Regions from separate parts of the Homo sapiens genome. Here regions 2, 3 and 4 are each linked to region 1. The links are contacts of gene promoters, found by promoter capture Hi-C in blood cells and fetal thymus (Javierre and others, 2016). All regions are on one chromosome and are shown on one strand. The core of a region is centred on a gene start or on the middle of the fragment in contact, and the rest is flanking DNA. Distances in the headings are between cores, read along the strand shown.

The links. Contacts are between HindIII fragments. The CHiCAGO score rates a contact against its expected background, and 5 or more counts as called.
Region 2: a contact is called between the fragment with the promoter of CHAMP1 here and the fragment with the promoter of GAS6-AS1 in region 1, in 2 of 17 cell types (total CD8 T cells and non-activated CD4 T cells). The highest score is 5.5, in total CD8 T cells.
Region 3: a fragment that was not itself captured here is called in contact with the fragment with the promoter of GAS6-AS1 in region 1 in 1 of 17 cell types (total CD4 T cells); the score reaches 5.0 in total CD4 T cells.
Region 4: a contact is called between a fragment that was not itself captured here and the fragment with the promoter of GAS6-AS1 in region 1, in 10 of 17 cell types (non-activated CD4 T cells, erythroblasts, total CD4 T cells and 7 more). The highest score is 7.8, in non-activated CD4 T cells.

The regions. Positions count from the first base shown.
Region 1 is chr13:113,810,643-113,816,859 of GRCh38, forward strand. GAS6-AS1 (GAS6 antisense RNA 1) reads left to right here and starts at 4,968. Exons shown (of 5, transcript NR_044995.2): 1 at 4,968-5,049. It overlaps TMEM255B (transmembrane protein 255B), which reads left to right. Exons shown (of 9, transcript NM_182614.4): 9 at 1,094-6,217. The coding sequence ends at 1,261. RefSeq lists enhancers at 4,852-4,921, 4,972-5,211, 5,272-5,391. The HindIII fragment of the contact is 6,758 bases long and covers 3,155-6,217 here.
Region 2 is chr13:114,311,986-114,318,202 of GRCh38, forward strand. It overlaps CHAMP1 (chromosome alignment maintaining phosphoprotein 1), which reads left to right and starts at 2,518. Exons shown (of 3, transcript NM_032436.4): 1 at 2,518-2,658. RefSeq lists silencers at 1,109-1,403, 2,176-2,855. The HindIII fragment of the contact is 6,923 bases long and covers 306-6,217 here.
Region 3 is chr13:114,238,699-114,244,915 of GRCh38, forward strand. It overlaps CDC16 (cell division cycle 16), which reads left to right. Exons shown (of 18, transcript NM_001078645.3): 4 at 292-330; 5 at 652-792; 6 at 3,423-3,582; 7 at 4,559-4,650; 8 at 5,158-5,291; 9 at 6,192-6,217. MIR548AR (microRNA 548ar) reads left to right here and starts at 5,807; the gene lies at 5,807-5,863. The HindIII fragment of the contact is 565 bases long and covers 2,941-3,505 here.
Region 4 is chr13:114,220,430-114,226,646 of GRCh38, forward strand. CFAP97D2 (CFAP97 domain containing 2) reads left to right here. Exons shown (of 4, transcript NM_001395229.1): 4 at 2,072-2,656. The coding sequence ends at 2,078. Among named protein-coding and RNA genes, the nearest start is that of CDC16, 11 kb to the right of the region's middle. The HindIII fragment of the contact is 7,731 bases long and covers 1-6,217 here.

The DNA.
Region 1 (6,217 bases), core at 3,718-6,217:
TGCCTAGGCCACTGGGGCAGAGTCCACTTCTCCTGGGGACCACAGCCTCTTTCCTTAACGCCTTCAGTGGAGAGGAGGGGCCGTCCGTGTCCAGGGGCTGAGGCACTGTACGCAAGGGTGTCAATCACACCTGAAGATGCCTCCACGGCAACACCCAGATGCGTGTGTGAGCCGCTGAGTCAGCCACGGTGACACTGAACCAGCCACACGCTGCTGGACGTGTGGACGTGTGGGGTTCATACGTGGGGCCTTTCCCAAATATGAAGAGTTGGGTGAGCCCAGGGGCCCCAGGCCTGGTGGACCCTAACTGTTGGTTTTGGAGTCAGGTCAGAGGCTCGCTGGCTGTGAGGAAGTGGGATGTGGTCTGAGGACACCCTTCCTGGGGCGTCCACCCCCTGCCCCATGCAGCTGTGGAGGCCAAGGTTGTGCCAGTGAGGCCCCGGCCACCCTCTCCTGTTCTGCCCCGGGCTGGGGCTGCTCCTTCTGGTGGCCCTGGGTCTGTGGGGTGGGGGCCCGTGAGAGTGGTCCTGGGTCTGTGGGGTGGGGGCCAGTGAGAGAGGTCCTGGATCTGTGGGGGGGGCCGGTGAGAGAGGTCCTGGGTCTGTGGGGTGGGGGCCCGTGACAGTGGTCCTGGGTCTGTGGGGGCCCGTGAGAGTGGGCCTGGGCCTGTGGGGGGGCCGGTGAGAGTGGTCCTGGGTCTGTGGGGTGGGGGCCGGTGAGAGAGGTCCTGGGTCTGCGGTGGGGGAGGGGGACGTAAGAGTGGCCCTGGGTCTCCGGGGGAGGGGAGGGGCGTGAGAGTGGCCCTGGGTCTGTGGGAGCCCGTGTGAATAGCCCTGGGTCTGTGGGGGGCCCGTGTGAATAGCCCTGGGTCTGCGGGGGGCCCTGTGTGAGTGGCCCTAGGTCTGAGGGGGCCTGTGTGAATAGCCCTGGGTCTGCGGGGGGCCCATGTGAATGGCCCTGAGTCTGCGGGTGGCCCTGGGTTGGCGGGGTGGGTGGGGAGCGTGTGAGTGGCCCTGGTATATGTCAGGCTTCCCTGTGGTCCGGCACGGGGTGGTCTCACCTGCTAACCCAGGGCCCTCTCTGTTTATTGCAGCCCTGCAGCCGCTTCCCAGTTGCGCCCTCCTCTGCCCTGGCTTCGTCTGAGGACCTGCAGCCCCCTTCTCCAAGCAGCTCTGGCTCTGGGCTTCCCGGCCAGGCTCCACCGTGCTACGCACCCACCTACTTTCCCCCGGGGGAGAAGCCACCCCCCTACGCACCCTGATAGAGGCGTGGAGTAAAAGATAACTTGTTTGTTTTTTTTTTTAAAAAAAAGGCAGCCTCTAGAAATCCCGCTTCTGTGGCCAACCTCCTAGAGAACCCGGGAGAATGTTCCAGAAGTCTGTCCCCTCCTTTCCTCCCTGGGCACACTGGTGAGGGAGGCTGGAACCAGGCAGGGAGTGGGGCCCTCCAGACCCAGGCTGGTGACACCTTGGCTTGGGCTCTGCTCACATCAAATGGCGCTGAAAGTTCCCACCCGGCCTCCTCCTCTGAGAGCAATTGTTCTGGTGTTTTCACATCCCTTAATTAATTAGCTATTATTATGATTTTGCAAAGACAGTGCAGCCCCGGCCTCCCTGCCTGTGTGTTCTTGTTTGTGGACATGTGTTGTGCGTTACACGTTCGTGTGTGCATCTGTGTCCTGGAGAAGCGCAGGGCAGAAGCCACCCGCCCCTCGTGCTGTGCTCCTGACGTATGCCAGGAAGGGAAGGACGCTTCGGCTCCAACGCCCAGCGCTGTGTCTAACCGCCTGTGAGTTGTTAGAATCCAGGGGCCCGGTTGTCTTTCCCAGCCCCGGATGCAAATCTGCCTGGGCCACTGGCACGAGGGTCTTCCCCTGAGCTGTCTCCCAGCTACGGCGCCTGGGCTTCCGCTGTCCTTCCGCGGCTTCTCCCTCACCGCACCTTGTCTCAGGACCCCTGGCCGCTGGGATGGTGGGGGACGGTGTTTCGGGGTCCTTTGGCTCAGGGTCTGGGGCCGCAGCACTCCCTGTGGAAACCAGCTTAGCTCCCCGCGGGCCCAGCATGCACCTGCCGGGCACACCTGGGGAGACGGGTGAGCACGCCTGGGAAGCAGCAGGTCCCGGGTGGGTCACAGGCCCCGGGTGGGTCACAGGACAGGTCTCAGGTGGGTCACAGGTCCTGAGTGGGTCACAGGTCCCGGGTGGGTCACAGGCATCCCGGGTGGGTCACAGGTCCCGAGTGGGTCACAGGCCCCGGGTGAGTCACAGGCCCCGGGTGAGTCACGGGTCCCGGGTGGGTCACGGGTCCCGGGTGGGTCACGGGCCCCGGGTGGGTCACGGGTCCCGGGTGGGTCACGGGTCCCGAGTGGGTCACGGGTCCCGGGTGGGTCACAGGCGCCCCAGTGACAGGAGTTCAGGATGCGCCACCCCAAAGTAGCCGAAGTCTCTTGAAAAGTGTTGGATGTGGGGAGAGGCTTTCTCTGAACTCCTGAAGTCAGATCCTCAGGGAACCAGGGACTCCCAGGGCGGGAGGGCGGGCGAGAGGTGATCCCATTGCTCCCCAGACGTGCCACAAGACACCAAGTCGCCGTCTCTGCTCTGTGGGCCGCTCACGGTTCCCCAGTCACTCCCTCTCCCCTCGGAAGCTGGCGCCTCCAGGCCTCACCGCTCTCAGGGCCTCACGTCCCTCCCTGCAAAGCCCCCCGTGCCTACGATAAACAAGTACCGCTCTTCTCCCGTGTGGGTCTGAGGTCTCCAGCTTACTTCACGGAACAGTGCCCACCTGGGAGGTGGAGCGGGGACTTTCTCCCCTGCCCAGTCCTGGATCTGGGAGAAAAAAGATAAGGTGGAGGGGAGCCACACTCGTGCAGACACAGCCTCCTGCCCCCTCTGCTGCCCGGGAGCCTCCCTCTGTCCGATGGAGGGTCTCACACAGCCTCTGCCCCCTCCGCTGCCCGGGAGCCTCCCTCTGCCCGACGGAGGGTCTCATCCTGTGTCCAGCGCTCCTGGGCAGAAGGCCCACAGCGCACATCCACACATGAACGGTGGCTGGCTGGGCCCAGGGGCCCTAACGGGCCTCTGAAAGGCCTGCAGCCAGCTCTGGTCTGTGAACCCGCCACTGCTTGTCATTTTTATCTTATAAAATCCAGCCTCACAAGCTTGCTGTCCAGGAGAATGTGGTCTTGGCCTCTCAGGGCTGACTGGCCTTGAACCAGTCCGGGAGGTCGGGCACGAGCCGGAGGTGCGGCGTCCTGTCTGGAAATCACCGCCCAGTTCCTCCAGGGCTGTGGGTGCCTGGCTCCGAGTAAGAAGCTGAACAAGCAGCAGAGACCAAGAGGTTTCTGGAGCGCCGGGAGATGCACTCACGAGCGCCTGTGGGGGAAGAAAAGTGTGCCACGGATTTCCCGAGTCCCCAGGGCTCTCACTTTACCTCAGGGAAGGCTCTATGGGCGCCGATGGTGCCGTGGTCTTGTGTGGGCGGTTCCTGGGCACCCTGGAGCTCGGGCTGTGCCCCCGAAGCTGCCTGGTGCAGGCACCAGCACCTCTTGGTGTCCTAGGGGTGCGAACAGCAGAGAAGCTGAACTGCAGGTCTGGGCAGGGAGTCTATGCCCCCTGGAGCTCTGGCCAGCAAAGTCACAGGAATAACCCTCCTTCCCCTCATGTCAGCCCTCGGTCGCAGGGTGCGGTGTGGGGGCATCAGAGTGCTTCCCCGAGGCTGCACTCACCAGCTTCCCCCAAACACAACATCGATCTTTCCCGACTTTTAATCTTGTCTAGAGTCAAAAGCTGTTCAAAAATATTCAACTCCAAGGTCAACAGTTTTGTTCTTGCCACAAAAATGTCCTTATCCTTTATCCCAGCCACAAAGAATGTGAACAATTTGACTCAAGGTTCGTGGTGGCTGGAGGGTCCCCCAGGTCCCAGGGCAGCTCCCACCTGGCGCAGGGCTCCGGCCAATGCCTGGCCTGCAGTGTGGGCGGCGGCTGCTCTCGAGGTGCACCTGTCTCATGTGGACGGATCCTGTCTGGGGCCACCAAGCTCTGCCAGCCTGAGTCACGGTCTGATGAACCCCCTCTCTGGGCTCCGCTGGGGCCTTCTGATCCCAGCCTCCTCTGCAGGGATGGGCTCCCAATCCCGCCCTCACTTGGTTCCCATGCACAGCCGAGGTCAGTGAGACCCTGGAGGCCGCGGGAGATGGGGTGGAGGGGATGGTGGGGCAGGGGGTGCTGGGGGGTTTGGGGGTGCTGTGGCCCCGGGGCAGGGGGTGCTGGGGGGTTTGGGGTGCTGTGGCCCCACCTGCACTCCCTGCCTCACTGGGACAGCACAGGAGACAGGCTTCTCCTGCAGCTCAGAGGTGGGGGCCTAGTGTAGCTGCAGGTTGTGACTGAGGAGGGCAGGGTCAGAGCATTGCCCTGGGCAGGGGTCCGTTGAGACTGGCCCCACCTTATTAGCTTGGGACCTTGGGTTACAGGGAGTCTCCTCCTGCCTCAGTTTCTACATTTCACACAGCAGCACTGCTCACAAGAGCTCCCAAGCAGAGGCAACTACTGAGTGGGGGAGGGACACAGTCCGTCCACATGGGGCCAACGGCCACAAAGAGAGGAAGGGACATGGGTGACGGTCCGTCCACGTGGGGTCACCGGCCACGGAGAGAGGAAGGGACATGGGTGACGGTCCGTCCACGTGGGGTCACCGGCCACGGAGAGAGGAAGGGACATGGGTGACGGTCCGTCCACATGGGGTCACCGGCCACGGAGAGAGGAAGGGACATGGGTGATATGGTTTTGCTGTGTCCCCACCCAAATCTCAACTTGAATTGTATTTCCCAGAATTCCTGCGCGTTGTGGGAGGGACCCAGCGGGAGGTAATTGAATCATGGTGGCTGGTCTTTCCCGTGCTATTCTCGTGATAGTGAGTAAGTCTCACGAGATCTGACTGGTTGATCAGGATTTCCGCTTTTGCTTCTTCCTCATTTTCTCTTGCTCCTGCCGTGTAAGAAGTGCCTTTTGCCTCCCACCGTGATTCTGAGGCCTCCCCAACCATGTGCAATTGTAAGTCCCGTTAAACCTCTTTTTTTCCCAGTCTCGGGTATGTCCTTATTAGCAGTGTGAAAACAGAATACTACAGTGGTCCATCCACACGCGGGTCTCACCCAGCCACAGAGAGGGAGAGGACGTGGCCCATCCACACGCGGGTCACCCGGCCACGGAGAGGAAGGAAGCTCTAACGGGTGCTGAGGCTGTAACACACAGTGCTCAGGGAAGGACACCAGACATGAAGACTGTGTTCTGTTTATATGCAGTGTCCAGAGAAGGCGTGTCCACAGACAGAAGCCGACTGGGAAAGGAGGTGCAGTCACTGCTCAGGGACACGGGTTCTTTTCGGGGAGGCAAGCGTGTTCGCAGCGTGTTCTGTATGGGGAGAGATGCAGTCACTGCTCAGGGACACGGGTTCTTTTCGGGGAGGCAAGCGTGTTTGCAGCGTGTTCTGGATGGGGAGAGGTGCAGTTACTGGTCAGGGACACGAGTTCTTTTCGGGGAGGCAAGCGTGTTTGCAGCGTGTTCTGGATGGGGAGAGGTGCAGTCACTGGTCAGGGATACGAGTTCTTTTCGGGGAGGCAAGTGTGTTCTAAGCGTGTTCTGGATGGGGAGAGGTGCAGTCACTGGTCAGGGACACGAGTTCTTGTGGGAAGAGGAGTGTCCGGGAGCCAGATGGCAGTGATGGGTGGACGGCCCCGTGGATGGACTGACCACCGACCCATGCTCTGCACTCATGAGGCGTGGCTATTGCTGTGTGAATCACATCTCCATGGAAACGGGAGTGGGAGAAACGGGCCCCAAGGATGTTGTGAAGATGGCCTTATGGGGCTGCACTGGTGACTTGGACAGTGCTGGCCACCGGCCCTGCTCAGTGAACAAGAGCCATGGTCATCACCCTCGCCACACAGAGCAGCTCCTCCTGCAGACTTGGGGACCCCGTGGCCACCAGACCCCGCGGTGGGAGCAGAGATGCCTCCGAAACTCTGGAGACCCACAGAGGCAGAAGAGGATTCCACGAGGCCGGGGCCCGTCAGCAGATCCTCAGACGGCGACACGCGCCACTTCCTTTTCTGTTTCCTAGACCTTTTAACTGATGGAATTCAGTAAGCAGAAAACGTGCTTGAAACAAGGGCACCATGGAGCGGACCCTCCCCCTCTCCCCTCGTGGAGTCCTTGACCC
Region 2 (6,217 bases), core at 1,268-3,767, 500 kb after region 1:
CAGAGGGTGTTTTGGTTTTTGTTATTTCGTCACCAAGAGTTGCCTTCTGCTAGAGTTTTGTTCAGTGTTCAATTGGAATAGGTCTCTTGGGATCATCAACTCATTCTGACACTTCAGGAAAAAACAACTGAAGCAGCCATTCAAATTAGGTCCTGCAGCCACAACGAACCTGTTTCATATTAAGAGTCAGGATCTCAAAAAGTTCTCAATCAGTAAATCTTTGCTATTCAGAGAAAATAAAAGATCCTCTCATTTCTGCATTTAACATTTACAGTTTACAAACTGTTTTCATTGGCTCTTTTAAAAGCTTGTAACTAGGTGGATACTTTTTAAAGAAATCTATTAAATTTAATGAATCAATTTTGCTGCAAAAACAAAACTTAGAAAAATCCTAAAATATTTAATATTGATATTTGAATCCTAGAAATCAGAATCATTCCGGAAATTAACACAGGATCCTAAATTTTGCATGAAAGGGAGGTAGAGCCAGGCGCTGTGGCTCACGCCTGTAATCCCAGCACTTTGGGAGGCTGAGACGGGCGGATCACGAGGTCAGGAGATCGAGACCATCCTGGCTAACACGGTGAAACCCCGTCTCTACTAAAAAAATACAAAAAAATTAGCCGGGCGTGGTGGCGGGAGCCTGTAGTCCCAGCTACTCGGGAGACTGAGGCAGGAGAATGGCATGAACCCGGGAGGCGGAGCTTGCAGTAAGCCGAGATGGCGCCACTGCACTCTAGCCTGGGCGACAGAGCGAGACTCTGTCTCAAAAAAAAAAAAAAAAAAAAAAGAAAAGAAAAGAAAAGAAAAAAATGTAAACACAATATAGCAACTTTTGTGATACAGCAAAAGCAATGCTAAAGGGGGAGTTTATAGCTATAAATACATCAAAAACCAAGAAAATCTCAAATTAACAACCTAACTTTACAACTTAATGAACTATAAAAAGAAAAACTAAATCCAAAGCTGGCAAAAAGAAGGAAATAATAAAGATTAAAGCCAAGATAAATGAAATAGAAAATAGAAAACGATAGAGAAAATCAATGAAACCAAAAATTGGTTCTTTGAAAATGTCAAAGCATTATTCACAATATCTTGAATAGGGAAGCAAGCCAAGTGTCCATCAACAGGTGAGTGGATAAGCAAAATGTGGCATATCCATACAATGGGATAGTATTCAGTGTTAAAAAGGAAGGAAATTCCACAATGTGCTACAACATGGATGAACCTTGAGGATGTTCTGCTAAGTAAAATAAGTCAGTCACAAGACAAATACTGTATGATTCCACTCTTATGAGTAGTCAGACTCAGAGACACAGGAAGTAAGATGGTGACTGCCAGAAAGTAGAAGGTAGAGGGGAACCGAGAGTTAACATGTAATGCATAGTTTGTTTTTCAAGATGAAAGAGGTACAGAGATGGATGGTGGTGTTATGAATATACTTACCACCACTGAGCTGTACACGTAAAGATAGTTAAGACGGTAAATTCTATGGATTTTATTTTTATTTTTTTGAGACAGAGTCTCACTCTCTCCCCCAGGCTGGAGTGCAGTGGCGCGATCTCGCTGTAACCTCCGCCTCCCCGGTTCTATGGGATTCTCCTGCCTCAGCCTCCCTAGTAGCTGGGGTTACACGCGCCCGCCACCACGCCTGGCTAATATTGTATTTTTAGCAGAGACAAGGTTTCACCAGGTTGGACAGGCTGGTCTCGAACTCCTGACCTCAGATGATTCACCTGCCTAGGCCTCTCAAAGTGCTGGGATTACAAGCGTGAGCCACCGCGCCCGGCCATTCTATAGTTCATTTTCACCACAAAAACAAAAATGAAATTCACAACAAGCAAAACTTCAGAAGGGTACAAAGGTAGAGAGCAGTGTGAGCTAATTTTACAGTCTTTCAAAGCATACAGACTGATGGCATCAGCATTAGAGGTGCATGCATTTTAATTAGAATTGTGGTGGTAACATTCATAAAACTGAAAACAAAAAACGAAGAAGATAACTTCTGGGAATCGGGACTTTCAGTGGAGGCGGGGTGATGAGAAAAGGAATATTTACTGTCATCCAACAACTTTGTCTTGTACTTTTGTCATAGGTATTATGCCAGTAATATCCCTGAGAATGTATGGGGCAGGTCTAGCTCTTTTTTTCCTAATAAATTCATTCACACAACAATCAAAACAGCAAGAAAAGGAAGAGATATCCGCACGGCGGCGGCAGGCCGGGGCCGTTCCAAGGGCCTGGCCGGAGGCCACAGGCCAGACGCGGCGGAACCCTCCCGGAGCCGCGCCCGGGCGCGCGCGGGAAGCGGAGGCGGAGTGGGCACGTGCGGCACTTCCGGGGCGGGGCGGGCACGCAGCCCTTCCGAAGGCCCGCGCGAGCCGCTAGTTTTGCCCACGCACTTTTGGCACAGCCGCGCCACGCGATCGGCGATCTGATTGGCCCGCGCGGGAGGGCGCGCGGCGCCAAACTTGCTTCCCGTCAGCCCCCGCCCGTCCCGCGGGAGCGCGCACGCTCGCGCACCCGGATCCCGGCTCCTGCATCCAGTCGCCATTCGGGAGGCCGCTGCGCTGCAGGGCCTCGCGGAGCCGCCCGCGACCGCGAGCCGGGCCCTCCGCGCGGTCCATCGCCCACTGGACGCCGCCCGCGGCCGGACCGGTGAGGAGCGAGAGCGAGCGGGGGAGGGGCGTGGTTGGGGCCTGCATCCCCGAGCCCCGTGTCGGCCGCCGACCTGGCGGGGACGGTCCCGGGAAGCCGCGGGTCCGAGTGAAGGGGGCCTGCGCTGCCTCGCTTCCCACACGGCCCGAGGGAAGGGCCCGCCCCCACAGGCCGGGGCGGGAGTGCGTCTTTGTGCAGGGAGCGGGGAGGCCCGGTGTCAGTCGCTGCCGAGGCTGGAAACATTGCGTTTGAAACCATTGGGAAGTTGAGGGCGGCACAAGACGAAAGCCATTCTTTCTGTTTTAGTTCTAGACTGCCTCCTCTTCTGTCATTATTACTGTTTAAAAATCCGCTATACAGCCTCCAAAGTGGGAGAGGACATTTGTAAACCTGATAAAGAGTTAATGTCTAGAATACAAGAAGAGATGCAACTGACCAACAAAAAGCAACCCAGTTCAAGAATGGGCAAGGAATTTGAATAGATATTTCTCCAGAGAAGAGAGACAAATGGCCAATAAGCACGTGCAGTGATGCTCAACATCACTAACCATTAAGGAAATGCAGATGAAAACCACAATGAGATACCACCTCACACCTGTTAGGGTGGCTATTAAAAAAAAGGGAAATTATGAGTGTTGGGGATGTGGAGAAATTGAAGCTCGGGTGCATTGCTGGTGGGAAAGTAGGGTGGTGCAGCAGCTATGGAAATTGGTAGTCGTTCCTCAGTTCTAGGTTTATACCCCCAAAAATTGACAGCAGAGACTCAGATACTTGTTCACAAATGTTCATCGCAGCATTATTCAAAATCCAGATGTCTATCAACATGTGGATGAAAGGCAAGCTGTGGTATATACATATAATGAATGGACCATTGTTCATCTTTAGAAAGGAATGAAATTCTGATACATGCTGCAATATAAACGAACACATTATACAGTATAAACGAGCACATTGAACACATTATGTTGAGTGAAATAAGACACAAAAAAGACATACTGTATGATTCCCCCTCAGGCACAGAATTGAGATTACCAGCACTGAAAGTGGAGAGTGGAAGTTACTGTTTCATGGGTACAGAATTTCTGTTTGTGGTGAAGAAGTTCTGGAAGTGGATAGTGGTGATGTTTGCACAACGTTTTAGTACTAAACTAACTAAATTGTGCTTTTAAAAATGATTAAATGGCAAGTTTTGTTTTTTTTTTTTTTTTTGAGACGGGAGTTTCGCTCTCGTTGCCCAGGCTGGAGTGCAATGGCCCGACCTTGGCTCACTGCAACCTCCGCCCCCTGGGTTCAAGGGATTCTTTTGCCTCATTCTCCCAAGTAGCTGGCATTACAGGCGCTTGCCACCACACCTGGCTAATTTTGTATTTTTAGTAGAGATAGGGTTTCTCCATGTTGGTCAGGCTGGTTTCGAACTCCTGACCTCAGGTGATCCACCCGCCTCGGCCTTCCAAAGTGCTGAAATTACAGGCATGAACCACCATGTCCGGCCTAAATGGCAAGTTTTTTGTTTTTATTTTTGTTTTTGTTTTTTAATGAGCCAGAGTTTCACTTTTGTTGCCTGGGCTGGAGTGCAGTTATGCGATCTTGGCCCACTGCAGCCTCCGTCTCTCGGATTTAAGCGATTCTCCTGCCTCAGCCTCCCAAGTAGCTGGGATTACAGGCGCCTGCCACCACACCCGGCTAATTTTGTATTTTTAGTAGAGACGAGGTTTCTCCACGTTGGTTAGGCTGCTCTCTGACTTTCAACCTTAGGTGATCCGCCCACCTTGGCCTCCCAAAGTGCTGGGATTACAGGCGTGAGCCTGTGGTGGCGCGCGCCTGTAGTCCCAGCTACTGGGGAGGCTGAGGCAGGAGAATCGCTTGAACCTGGGAGGTGGAGATTGCAGTGAGCCGAGATTGCGCCATTACACTCCAGCCTGGGTGACAGAGCGAGACTCCCTCTCAAAAAAAAATAAATAAATAAAAATGACTCCTTGTGTAAACTATAGACTACTTAATAAATCAGTATTAGCTTATCATTGTAGCAGATATCTCACACTAATGCAAGATGTTAATACAGGTGAAGTATCCTTCATTCGAAATGCTTGGAACCAGAAGTGCTTTGGATTTTTTTTTTTTTTTTTGGATTTTGGAATAGTTGCATTGTACTTACTGGTTAAACATCCGTAATCTGAAATCTAAAATGCTCCTTTTGGCACTCAAAAAGTTTTGGATGTTGGAGCATAATCAGATTTCAGATTTTCAGATTAGGGATGCTCAGCCTGTAGTAGGAAAAACTGGGGACAAGAAGATAGGTGGGAATTCTTGTACATTCCCTTCAGTTTTTCTTCAAACATAAAACTACTTGGAAAATTAGTTTATTAATTTCTTTCTTTTTTGGGTTGGGGGTGAGTATGGAGTCTTACTCTGTTGCCCAGCTGGAGTGCAGTGGCTCAGTCTTGGGTCACTGCAACCTCCGTCTCCCGGGTTCAAGCGATTCTCCTGCCTCAGCCTCCCAGGTAGCTGGGATTATAGGTATGCACCACCACGCCCAGCTAATTTTTGTATTTTTAGTAGAGACAGGGTTTCACCATGTTGGCTGTTGGCCAGGCTGGTCACGAACTCCTGTCCTCAAATGATCCGCCTGCCTTGGCCTCCCAAAGTGTTGGGATTACAGGTGTGAGCCACTGCGCCCGCCCAGTTTATTAATTTCTTAAAGGCCAGGCATGGTAGCTCACACCTGTAATCCCAGCACTTTGAGAGGCCAAGGCAACAAGATCTCTGGAGGCCAGGAGTTCAGGACCAGCCTGGACAACATAGTGAGACCTCATCGCTACAGAAAAAAAAAATTAGCCAGATGTGGTGGCAGGTACCTATGGTCCCAGCTACTTAGGAGGCTGAGGCGGGGGGATCTCTGGAGCCCAGGAGTATGAGGCTGCAGTGAGTTGTGATGGCGTCACTGCACCAAAACCTTGGGCAACAGAGCGAGACCCTGTCTCTAAAAAAGAAAAAAAGTCCGCTAAGATAAAGAACAATGCTAGTGTGTATAGACTAATAGAACCCATTTAGCTTTGAACATGTTCTACTTATTGAATTTTAATTTAAAAAACTATGCATCAGATGTGTTTTAAAAGATGATCAGTGGTGTTCGACTTCAAAGAAGAAATTGAATGGGAGATGGGAAATAGGTATGATACACCATCTGGCATAACATTGCATTGAAGGATACTGGGTGATAGACTGGCAGAGCACCAATGATTAGAATTTAGGTTTTTTAGAGACGAGATGTAATCTGTCTCAAAGACAAAAAGAAATTTTTGTTAATCTGGACAATTCTGAGTTAATTTTTAGTTAGGGTTAGGAGTTCTTAAATTTAGGAAGAAATTTTGCTAGAACCTAAAAGCTGGAAGGACGCCCAGCTCTCTAGGCTTTGCCTAAAAGTTGAATTCTGGGACTAAATTCTGTAACATCTTCGTGGATCGTTCTGCTACTGTGGGAAAGACAGCATTTTGTTACAGCAGAGACCAGAATTGAGAAAACCAGAATAAAAAAACTGTTCCCTCTGACCTCAGTGTTG
Region 3 (6,217 bases), core at 1,973-4,472, 430 kb after region 1:
CTGGTTGATGCTTTCTGTTGCCCCGTTTCGTCATGCTTACCTGTTGTGCTTAGTTCACATCTCCCCTACTGTAACCTCCTGGGGCAGGGCCTTACTGCTTTTGAATCCTTGGTGCCTAGTAAACAGTAGGTTCATAATAAATATGGTTTAACAGGACTGGATTTTTTTTTTAACTGCAAGAGTAAAAGGAGAAATTATGAAATTAGTTCTATTTTATGCTTATGGCTTTCTTTGAAAGTGAAGATACATATTATTTTGACCACTACTTAAACAAATTAATTTCTTTCCTAGTTGTATGAAGCATGTCGTTACCTTGCAGCTAGGTGCCATGTAAGTATGCTCATAATTTCATTTTTATTTGGTTGAATAAAATGAGTGTTATGCATCTCTTAAATATGTGTGAGAATTTTAGTGATGGAGCTTAGCAGGTTAGTAAAGTATTTCATGAGGAAGTGTTCCTTTCCTTAGTCATGTTTGCTATAAAATACTGATTCTTCGTTTACCACATGCTGACATGCATGAAGAAAATTCTACTTTAGACATTTCACATTTAAATAATGGGCATAGTATATGTTATCCTTTAAAAATTCGGATCATGTGTTTCGTGTTAGAAGTCGTGAGTGATGAGCGGCACTTCTGTTTTCCACGTAGTATGCTGCAAAAGAGCACCAGCAGGCCCTTGATGTTCTTGACATGGAAGAGCCCATCAATAAAAGATTATTTGAAAAATACTTGAAGGACGAAAGTGGCTTCAAAGATCCTTCCAGCGACTGGGAAATGTCACAGTCTTCAGTAAGTAGTACTGTGAGCACAGCTCAGTAACGGCGGCGAGAATTGCCCTCATTACGTGGCAGAAACACATTATCTTCTTTTACTTATTACTATATTAAAACAATTGTGGTTGCCAATTTATTTAATTTGCCCACCAAAACCAAAAAAGATTCTGAGACATTTCTGAGCCCTTAGTTGCAAGCTGTAATTGTATCCGCAGATGCCTGCATCCAAAATAGGCTGGCTTGAAACTTCCTTCTCATATTTGATGCCTTAAGCTACTCCCTAAAAGTGGAATAATTTTTCTTCTCCTTTCTGTGTTTCAGCAGTGTTTTGGACCTACACCAAGAAACTTTGATTAGCGTACATTGTTTCTTTCCAGGAAATGGTTTTGTGTTCTGTTTGCTTCAAAGTACATTGCTATGTAATTGTGTATATTTCAGTTTGTATACTTCATATCTCCATGAAATTGCACATTCCTTGCTGGCAGACATCATATAGTAACTTATTAAGTGACATTTACAGATCACTAATCTGGATTTAAAAAAAAAAATAAAAACTTATTGAGGTATAATTTATATGCCATGCAGTTCCCCCATTTAAACTGTATGGTTTGATTCCTTTTAGTGTATTCACAGAGCTTTGCAAACCTCACCATGGTCAATTTTAGAATATTTTTATTATTCAGAAAGAATCCCTGTAAGCCTTACCTGACCTACCAATTTCTCTTTCTTCCCACATCTTTTTTTTTTAAATTAAGACAGGGTCTTTGCTTTGTTGTCCAGGCTGGAGTGCAGTGGCACAATCACAGCTCACTGCAGCCTCAACCTCCCAAGCTCAAGTGATTCTCCCACCTCAGCCTCCCGAGTAGCTGGGACTACAGGCGCCCGCCACCATGCCCGGCTAATTTTTTGCTATTTTAGTAGAGACGGGGTTTCACCATGTTAGCCAGGATGGTCTCGATCTCCTGACCTCGTGGTTTGCCCACCTCGGCCTCCCAAAGTGCTGGGATTACAGGTGTGAGCCACTGTGCCCGGCACAGTTGGCTAAATTTTTTAAAAAATGTTTTGTAGAGACAGGGTCTCACTGTGTTGCCCAGGATGGTCTCAAACTCCTGGGCTCAAGTGATCCTCCTGCCTTAGTTTCCCAAAGTGTTGGGATTACAGTCATGAGCCACTGCACCTGGCCCATTTATTTATATTTTTGGTAGAAGTTTATTACTTGACTTTTCACCTTAGATAGTTATTTTTAAGCATAAAAGAATATTACACATTCTAGGTTTTTGTTTTTGTTTTTTTTTCTGGCCACTCATTAATGTATGTGTTGGGAAGCAGATTCTTCTGTTAAGAAATGCATTTATGAAAGTGTGTGGTACAGTCATTATTTTGGGACCTCTTATCCATTAACTTATTTGCTATGAAATGTGTGATTTATTTGCAACGCATTATTATTTATTTTGTGAAATTACATTTTTAAAAAACAACTCCTAGGATATTGCTTAGTTCGAAGACTCTCATAATTCATTATTTTTTCTAAAATTTTACTTTATGAATCTTCTTCATATCCTTAATGATACTAGCTGCCTGTTGCTGGATCATCTTTAAATTCAGTTATGTGTTCGAGGTCCAGAGTCTAGAATGTGCATCAGATTTCCACATCTTCGTGTTTATGGTAGTCGTGAGATGGCTGTTGAACGCCTTACTATGTGCTAGCACCACAGAGATGGTAGCATCTCTAGCCCTCACAGACTTCTATAAGTTAGATAGTAAAGAGTTCTATAAGTTAGATAGTGTTTTTATCTTTTTACAGATGAGGATAGGAAATGGAGGCCAAGAGAGGTTCAATCACTTGTCCGAGGTTACAAGTAATTGGCAGAGCTGGGGTTTGAACTCAGGTCTGTGCTGCCTCAGCAGGCCATTGTGCTGACTGCTGTGACCACTCTGCTGCATTGCTGCCAGTTTCTGCTCATTAAGATCCTTTTGAGGGGTGTCTGCCTATCACACTGTCAATCTTGGAGTTTTATACACATGCACACACACTCTGCCATCTCTAAATCATTGCACTGTTTTGGACAAAACAGGTAATGAACCTAGTAGCCGTGACATGTACTTTTGTTATAAAGATGTGTTGGAACAGAGCAGTTGAAGCCCAGGGAAGGTGAATTGAAGAAGCTTTGCTGTGCATTTTTTGTGTGTTTTTATTTATGCCTTGACAGTTGTGATTGACTAAATCCTTTTAAATGCAATAAAAACTTCTCAGCATTCAAATACACAATTCTCTATCAAAAGTTAAGTTTAAGGGCCAGGCATGGTTGCTCATGCCTGTAATCTCAGCACTTCGGGAGGCCAAAGTGGGAGGATCACTTGAGGCCAGGAGTTTGAGAGCAGCCTAGGCAACATAGCAAGATTGTCTGTACAAAAAATTTAAAAAATTAACTGTTTGTGGTATTGTGCACCTGTAATCCTAGCTACTCAGGAGGCTGAGGCAGGAGGGTCATTTGAGATCATAGGAGTTCAAGGCTGCAGTGAGCTATGATCGCACCACTGAACTCCAGCCTGGGAGACAGAGTGAGACTCTGCCTCTAAGGAGAAAAAAAAAAAGTTAAGTTTAAAAGTACTGACTTAATATGTGACTCATCATTTTTCCAACAGATAAAGAGTTCTATCTGTCTTCTACGCGGGAAAATCTATGATGCTCTAGATAACCGAACCCTGGCTACCTACAGCTACAAAGAAGCTTTGAAGCTTGATGTCTACTGTTTTGAAGCGTTCGATCTTTTAACATCACATCACATGCTGACAGCACAAGAAGGTTTGGAAACTCAGGCTTTTTTGTTTTATGTTTAGCAAAATTAATATTGTTTGGATTTTTTGCCTCTGAAATCTTCTAAGTCAACAACAGGCCACATACAGGTTTAAATAGACCTACTCACTTTCTTAATGTCTTCAAATGTAAAGCACGTTGCAGAATGCAGTATTGTACGGTGCCTTGTGCTGTCCGAATCTAGGGATTGTGATAGGAAGAGGCCATCTTTTTGAGAAGTGATTGAGATAGTATAAACCAGGATTTCAGTATCTCATGCAGTGATTCTCAACCGTGTTGCTCTTTACATCCTTGGGAAGACAGAGAAACATCCATGTCCAGTTCCCAACTCCAGAGCAGATGCTTTAAAGCTCCCAGGTGATCCTAATGTACCACAGGCACTGAGAATCAGTCCAAGTATGTTGGCAGTGGTGTGAGGTGCGTCAACAAGGGAAACAGAAAATAGAGTGGTTGGATTAATGGGATTCTAACATATTTTAGCCTAGTGCAGTGGTTCTCAACCAACCAGAGTGATTTTGCCGCCCCCTGCCCCGGGAACAGTTGGCAATGTCTGGAGATGTTGTTTGTCACAGCTTAGGGGCAGGGAGGGAGGTTGAGAGGTTGCTGCTGGTATCTAGTGGTTAGTGGCCAGAGGTCCTGCTTAGCACCTGCAGTACACAGGCTCCCCTGTTCCCAGCAGAGCAAGATCCACGCAGTCAGGAGTGCGGAGGCTGGTGGTTCTTAGGTGACAAGAGCCACCTGGGGACCTGCCTCAGCCCTGAAAGAGTAGCCTCCACCCACCAGATGATTCCCGTCTTCAGGCCTGGAGCCACTGTGTCAGCTTCTGTTGCACATTTTGATCTTATGTTCTCTTTTGAGTTTGATTTACTTAGACCAAGAACTGTAGAATCATATTTTTAGTTGTTGGCTTTTTCCCCTCTATAAATATTATGAGGATATTCTTTTTTTTCTCACCATTTTTAAGAAAAAGAACTTCTTGAATCACTACCCCTTAGCAAGCTGTGTAATGAAGAACAGGAATTGCTGCGTTTTCTATTTGAGAACAAATTGAAAAAAGTAAGTAAAACCAAAGAGTTAGCACTTGCTTTATGTAAATATCTTATTCCATAAAATTTGGCATCTAGTCTTATATTAAGTTTTCAAAATTAAAACTTTTTAAATTTAGCACATTTTTAAGAATAGAGCGTTTAAGATACATAAGATTCCAAAAAAAAAAAGCTTTCAAAAATACCTTTTTCCTCTGAAAGACTCCTTATACTAAAAGATTGAATTACCAAGTAAATGTAAATGGAATGGTGTTGCATGGAAATGAAGATTTTTTTGTTATGCTTCCTGAATGTTTACTTTGAGAAATACGTCCCGCTGTGGAATTCTGTTCTAAAATTGAGAAGGGAATTAAACTTACTGAGAGGAGTACTTATAAAACCTAAAGTTATAAGTTTTCAGAGGCTCTCACATTTGTTCTTGTAAATGTTTTAACCACTTGGGCCAAACACAAATTGAATCCACATTTTATTTTGTTTTTGCTCATTGAGTTTATGTTTACATTTCTATGTGTTTCAGTATAATAAGCCTAGTGAAACGGTCATCCCTGAATCTGTAGATGGCTTGCAAGAGAATCTGGATGTGGTAGTGTCTTTAGCTGAGAGACATTATTATAACTGTGATTTTAAAATGTGCTACAAGCTTACTTCTGTGTAAGTATATCCATCCATTTTTCTGTAGGAACATGGAGTTCACTCCATCTTACCTAGGTGATTCACGGACGTGCTCTCTGAATAATCTTGAACTAGATGATAATTTAAGTTATCTTTACCAATTGTAGAGCACTGAACAGGGTGCTGTCTTAAAAGAGCAATTTACAGACATGAATTTGTGCATATTTGTAGATTTATTACATTAACTTGGGAGGGATATACATGTTGCTCTTACTGATCTTGATAATTTGCAAGTTTGAAAATTCCATTTTGGCACATTGTTTTGTAAAATTTATTCTCAATTATGAGACTCACACTGTAGATACTAGGTGTTTAATATGCTGCACGCAGTAGCTAAGCCATCTCCCACATGTATCAGTTTTCCAGTGTACCTAATTTAAACTTTAGCTAAATGACATATGCTATTTTTTGTAGATCTTGGTTCGGTTTAAAATCCTTGAAATTACAAAAATTTTAATTGGCAAATACACATAACCTATTTATTAGTTTGGTGCAAAAGTAATTGCAGTTTTTGCTGTTGAACGTAGTGGTAAAACTGCAGTTATTTTTGCACCAACCTAATAGGATTTCCTGTTGGTTTTGATTCTTTTAAATAAGCGGCCTACTTATTTTATGTATTACAATTCTGTTGACTTAAAGTAAATGTATGTGATAATGTTTATTTTTATTCCTTTCAAATAAACCAGAATTTTTTCTTTCATTTGTAACTTAATTATGGCCTTAACTGAATCAACCTGAAGATAATGGAGTGAAGAAAGTGAAGTGTTACAACCCACAGCATCATATGTGATACCATAATGACTGTCTACACATAGCCGATCGTCGTGAGTGCTGTCACCTGCTGGTTTGGGGGTAGTAATGTGTCGCTTTAACTTTCAGAGTAATGGAGAAAGATCCTTTCCATG
Region 4 (6,217 bases), core at 2,566-5,065, 410 kb after region 1:
GGTTTAAATATTAACTCGCAAAATTTCTCAAACATTTTAAAGGAAGGATTTCAATTTTCCATCCTCCTTACCCCTTCAAGTCATTTATCCCTAACTCCAAAATGAGAAGATAATAATTTTGTACCTGTTTCTACTGAAGGATTTATATAAGATTATCCAACAAAACCCACTGGCCATCCTGGCACTTCCTGGAGCCCCCAGCTAACTGGAAGTATGCATTGCTCTAATTTAGTGCCCCAACCCCAATAACTCCTGCACATGAGAAAGAAGCAAAAATTAAACAAACACAAATGATCTCCAGGAGCAAAATTAGCTGTTTAAATAATCGGCTGACTCAGTGCAGGTTGACACAGGACACACAATGGATGTGAGTTGGCTTTGAGCTCCTTGGCCTCCAACCATCATCTCGGACAAAAGCTCAGCCTCGGGGAGCCCCATTCTCGCTTCTAAAGATGGGACAGGAACCACCTCCTGGACCTCACGTCAGGGTTAAGTGAATAACATTTGCAAAAATGACTGTGAAAGTGACTCACACTTGGCTGGGCATGGTGGCTCATGCCTGTAATCCCAGCACTTCGGGAGGCCGAGACAGGCGGATCACGATTTCAGGAGATCGAGACCATCCTGGCCAACATGGTGAAACCCCGTCTCTACTAAAAATACAAAAATTAGCTGAGTGTAGTGGCGTGCGCCTGTAGTCCCAGCTACTCAGGAGGCTGAGGCAGGAGGATCGCTTGAACCAGGGAGGCGGAGGTTGCAGTGAGCCGACATCGCGCCACTGCACTCCAGCTTAGGCGACAGAGCGAGACTACGTCTCAAAAAAACAAAAAAACAAAAAAAGTGACTCACACTTACTTGGCAAAAGATAAATTTGAGTTTCTTTCCTTTTTCCTCCTGAAGGCCCTTTACCATCCAGCAACAAGCCAACATGGCTCAGTTTACTGATTCCGGGAAAAGTACTTTGCTGCATTTCAGAAAGATGTTTAACAACAAAACTGACAAAAGGTTATCTGATTATTTGAATAGAGATTTCTCCCAACAGGATATACAAATGGCCAATAAGTGCATGAGAAGATGTTCAATGTTATTAGTAAATGCAAATGAAGACCACAGTGAGATGTCACTTGCAGCCACTAACTTGTCTGCAATCAAAAGGTAGATTACAATAAGGATGTGGAGAAACTGGAACCCTCATAGGCTGCTGGTAGGGGTAAACAGTGGTATGTATACATATGTAACAAACCTGCACATTGTGCACATGTACCCTAGAACTTAAAGTGTAATAAAAAAAAAAGGAAATGAAATAAAAGGTACACAAACTTAAAATGAAAAGAAAAAAAAAGAGTGGTGCAGCCACTTTGGAAAACAGTTTGGTAGTTCATCAAAAAGTTAAACAGTTACCAAATCACCCAGCAACTCCACTCCTAGGTCTATATTCGAGAGACTTGAAAACATACATTCATGCAAAAACCCATACACTGATGTTCATAGCAGCACAGTTCACAATGACCAAGAGGTGTAAACAACCCAAATGTCTATCAACTGATGAACAGATAAAACGTGGTATAGCCATAGAATGGAATATTATTCTACCATAAAAAGGAATGATACTAGTTACAGAATGGATAAACCTTAAAGACATTATTATGTTCCGTGAAAAAGCTGGATACTAAATGCCGCATGTTGTCTGATCCCTTTTATATGAAATGTCCAGAATAGGCACATTCAAAGAGACAAAAAGTAATCAGTGGTTGTCGGGGCTGGGGGAAGGGAAATTGGGGAGTGATCCCAAAGGAGTTTGATTTTTGGAGGGGGAGGTGATGAAGATGTTCTGAAATTATATTGTGACAATAGTTGCACAACTCTGAATATACCAAAACACACTAAAATATACACTATAAAGGGGTATAGAATTGTATCTAAATAAAGCTGTTATTTTAAAAATTGTATGTTTAATTCTAAGTAAAGACTTGTCAATGAGTTGAAATATTCCATTTCCCAAGTAAGTTGATAGTTTCTTGTTCTTGCCTAAGAAAGCGTTAGTTTCAAATATGTATTTTAAATCCAGCAGGAAGTGAAACTGGATTAGCAAGCGCACAGCCAAGCCTGGACCCTAAAAGAGAAGTGAGGAAGGGTAAGGATTCAGAACACAAATCCAGAAAGAAGACAAGTGTGATGAGGGAGTCACAAGGAAGACCCACAAGGCCAGCCATGAGCTCCCCCAGGCTAACACAGCCAGCGGTCTCAGGGCAGTGTGGGGAATCAGCCTTGCCCAGGGCCGGGGCCAGGGCAGCCCCGCTGTCTTCCTCTCTTCACTGTTATCACAGCCGGAGCAGCTGTGAAGTGCCCAGGAGGCAGCTCCTCAAACGGTGTTTCAACAATGTGCCCGAGCAGATGACGCAGCAAAACTATTTTCTGTGCTTCTTGGACTCTGATAACTGGAAACAAACTATGCAGAGTCATGTTAGGAGGTGAGGGTTTGAATTAGATTGTTTTCTCTAGCTATGAAGACTTATTCTGTTACTGTATTTTGAGCTGTGGTGGATTTGTCTATAATTCCTAGGTGGATTTTTAACTTACCTTAAAAGCTCTGTGATTGTTCCTTTAACAAATATCTAAATAAATCAGATTAAAATTTTTGAACGTGATGAAACTACAGCTTGACTCCAGAATACATAACCTAAGATATAAAAAAGACCCAGAGGGCCAGGCACGATGGCTCACGCCTGTAATCCCAGCACTTTGAGGGGCCGAGGTGGGCGGATCACAAGGTGAGGAGTTCGAGACCAGCCTGACCAACATGGTGAAACCCCATCTCTACTAAAAATACAAAGAAGTTAGCCAGGCATGGTGGCGGGCACCTGTAATCCCAGCTACTCAGAAGGCTGAGGCAGGAGAATCGCTTGAACCTGGGAGATGGAGGTTGCAGTGAGCCGAGAACGCGCCACTGCACTCCAACCGGGGCGACAGAGCAAGACTCCATCTCAAAAAAAAAAAAAAAAAGAAAGAAAAAAGAAAAGAAAAGAAAAGAAAAAAGGACCCAGAGAGTCTCGGTTGGAGACATCAAGGGTATGTCTGAGAGCCCTTGGGATCTGCTTAGTTCTCTATCAGCCCCAGGTAAGATCCCGCCTAAGCTGTTCCACAACAATGAACATCAGCCCATGGGCAATGCCTTTTAAAAATGAGTTAAAAGACTCACACACACCTTCATTCATTCAACAGAACTCTGCATATGTAGTCTCAGCCTCATGGAGCTGATAGCTAGCCCCTCAGAAATGTCACGGTCCCTAACTACTCTTTGCTATTTATTTATTTATTATTTTTATTTTATTTATTTATTTTTTGAGATGGATGGGATTACAGGCACATGCACCACCACTCCCAGCTAATTTTTGTATTTTTAGTAGAGACGGGGTTTCACCATGTTGACCAGGCTGGTCTTGAATGCCTGACCTCAGGTGATCTGTCTGCCTTGGCCTCCCAAAGTACTCTTTGCTATTTTTAACCTATATTATAGATTTAAATTTTTGTTTTGTTTTGTTTGAATGAAAATAAGAAGATAATTTCAGGCTGGGCATGGTATCGCACACCTACATTCCCAGCAGTTTGGGAGGCCAAGGTGGGAGGGTCGCATGAGCCCAGGAATTCAAGACCAGCCTGGGCCACATGATGAGACCCCGTCTCTACCAAAAAAAAAAAAAAAAAAAAAAAGAAGCAGCAGCTAATTTCATTCCTTATTTCATTCCTTTATGCACAAGCCCCTTTAAAATACACTTGACATGAATAGCAGAGCTTGCCTCCGGCTCCTCCATGCAGAATTCGGCAATCCCAGGTTCCTCACCGCTCCTCAGGGTGGACCTTCCATTGACAGTGTTTAAAATCACAGACTGTGGGGTCAGACAGGCCTGGATGTGGATTCTGGGTCTCCTGCTGATCCCCCGAGTGGACCTCCCGAAGCCTCTCCTGTGCAGCAGGTGGTGCTGGAGCCTGAGATGCCGGCATCGGGCCGGGAGGAGCTGGGCCTCTGCCCACTGCAGCCATGACCTCTCCAGGCAGCCCCGCCCCCCTGTGTCGTGAAGCGCAACTGGGCACAGGACCTCCATTAACAGTCCACGTCTGTGCTAAACTTGATGGAAAAAATGGCCTCTCCATAGCGATTTGTGTCCTTGGTTTGCAAGCCTCGAATTTGCACCTCCTTTTCGAGGTGGCAGTTTAGGGTTGACTCTGGCAGCATTTTCCGAATGTGCCTGCCTGTGTGTCCCCACCTTGTTCCACCCCACAAGGGTTGTGCTGTAGGAGTCCTGGCCTCTGCCAGCCCTCCCTGATGGGCCCTAATGCAATGAACGTCAAAGGATCTATCACAAAACTAGAAAGGCTGCTGTCTGGTCCTGAGAACATTGTTCTCTTTTCAATCTCTCTTTCCAGAGAGCAAACAGTTTATAAAGACTGACAAATTGCTACACATAGTCAAGAAGTAGACAAAATCTTGCCATTACACAGAAGAGCCATAATGTCAGCTCTTTTCCCTTCTGGACTTTGCTCAGAGAGTCAGTGGACAAATGAGCATCCTGCCAGCAGCCTTAGTGTAAAAACCAGCCACCCACAAGCTCTGATGACCTGAAAAGTCAAGTACCAGGTGCATTTTCAGATCCAGAGATGTGTCTGTCCCATGTTACTCTGGGTATCAAATTAATTGAAACCTATAGAACTTTGAAATGCTTTAAAACCATCATAAATATAATGGATGGAGCAGTGAGGACAGAAGCCTGTCTATCCTGTGTGAGGTGGGCACACAGGAAATACGTGTTAAATATAGAAAGGAAGAAAATAAAGGAGGGAGAGAAGAAGGGAGAAGGGAAAAGAAGGTAGAAAAGTAGTCCTATAGTGGAAGAGGAGGGGAAGAGACAGAAGGAGGAGGAGGAGGACAGAGGAGGGAGGGGGAGGGGGAAGGGCTAGGGAGGGGAGGAGAAGTGAGGGGGGAAAGGGGAGGGGAGGAAGGGGAGGGGGGAGGGGGGAGGGGAAGGGGAGGGAGGGGGAGGGAAAGGGGGAGGGGAGGGAGGGGGAGGGAAAGGGGGAGGGGAGGGAGGGGGAGGGAAAGGGGGAGGGGAAGGAGGGGGAGGGAAAGGGGGAGGGGAGGGAGGGGGGATGGAAAGGGGGAGGGGAGGAGAAGCGAAGCCGGGGGAGTGGAAGGGGAGGGGAGGGAGAAGAGAAGGAGGGAGGCAAAAAGGGGAGTGGGAGGGGACTGGGGAGGACGGACAAGGAGAAAGAAGGAGGAATAAGAATTGCAGGCGTGGCCCAGGCTGGTACTGGGGTGGGGGAAGGGAGTGCCCCCTGCAGAACAGGAGGCTGTTGCCCTAGGGTATGCAGGGCTCACCTGAGGAGCCTCCTTCATTCTGAGCCCTGAGCGCCTCCTCTGCCTCACTCCGGTCCCCACCCTGCAGTGGTGAAGCCAAAGTCGGTAAAGCAGTGGCTGCTGTGTGTTTTCTCCAGGTCAGTGGGACATGGGGCTGCTGGACATCTCAGCCCTTTGGCCGTGGCTCTGCCGAGTTTGATCGCCACACTCTTCCCTGCTGCCACCAGAAGGGTCACACAAGGCCACTCTCAGGACTCCCAGACCTCATCTGTCTCAGAGAAGAACGAGGCCACTATAAAAGGGTGATGTCTTTGGCCTTAGGGGGCGTGTAGGCCCCTCTGGTTGCGATGTGGATAGAGTTCCAGATGTGAGGGAATGTTCTGGAAATGCAACCTGGGCAGCTGATGGAGTCCAGGCCCTTCGGGTGCTAACGCTGTGAAACATCTCTGTTTCAGAAATGGGTGCCAAGCCTGGAGGGCAGGCTTGCTTAGCAAAGAAGGCAAACTCTGGTGAGCTACAGCTGGGTTCAGCACATGGGTCTGGTAGGGAAACACACATTGAAACGTTATTAAAACCAGCAAGACTGACACAGGCGGCAGACTGTGACGTCTGTCCCATGTTACACTGAGCTTGTTTTCAGGTCCGGAGATGTGCCAAAGCCGTGCCACACTGGGCTGGAGCCACTCGTGAAATGTCATTACGCTCACACAGCTGCAAAGTTCTCAGTATTTACCAACTAGGACTTTTCTTGTATTGGTATTTGTTTAATTGTCTTCTCTCCTCAACAGTAACTATAATGTCCTAAAACTCCGTAGACAATAAATAGTTCTTTAAAGACCAGATTTAGTTTTCATGTAACCTACA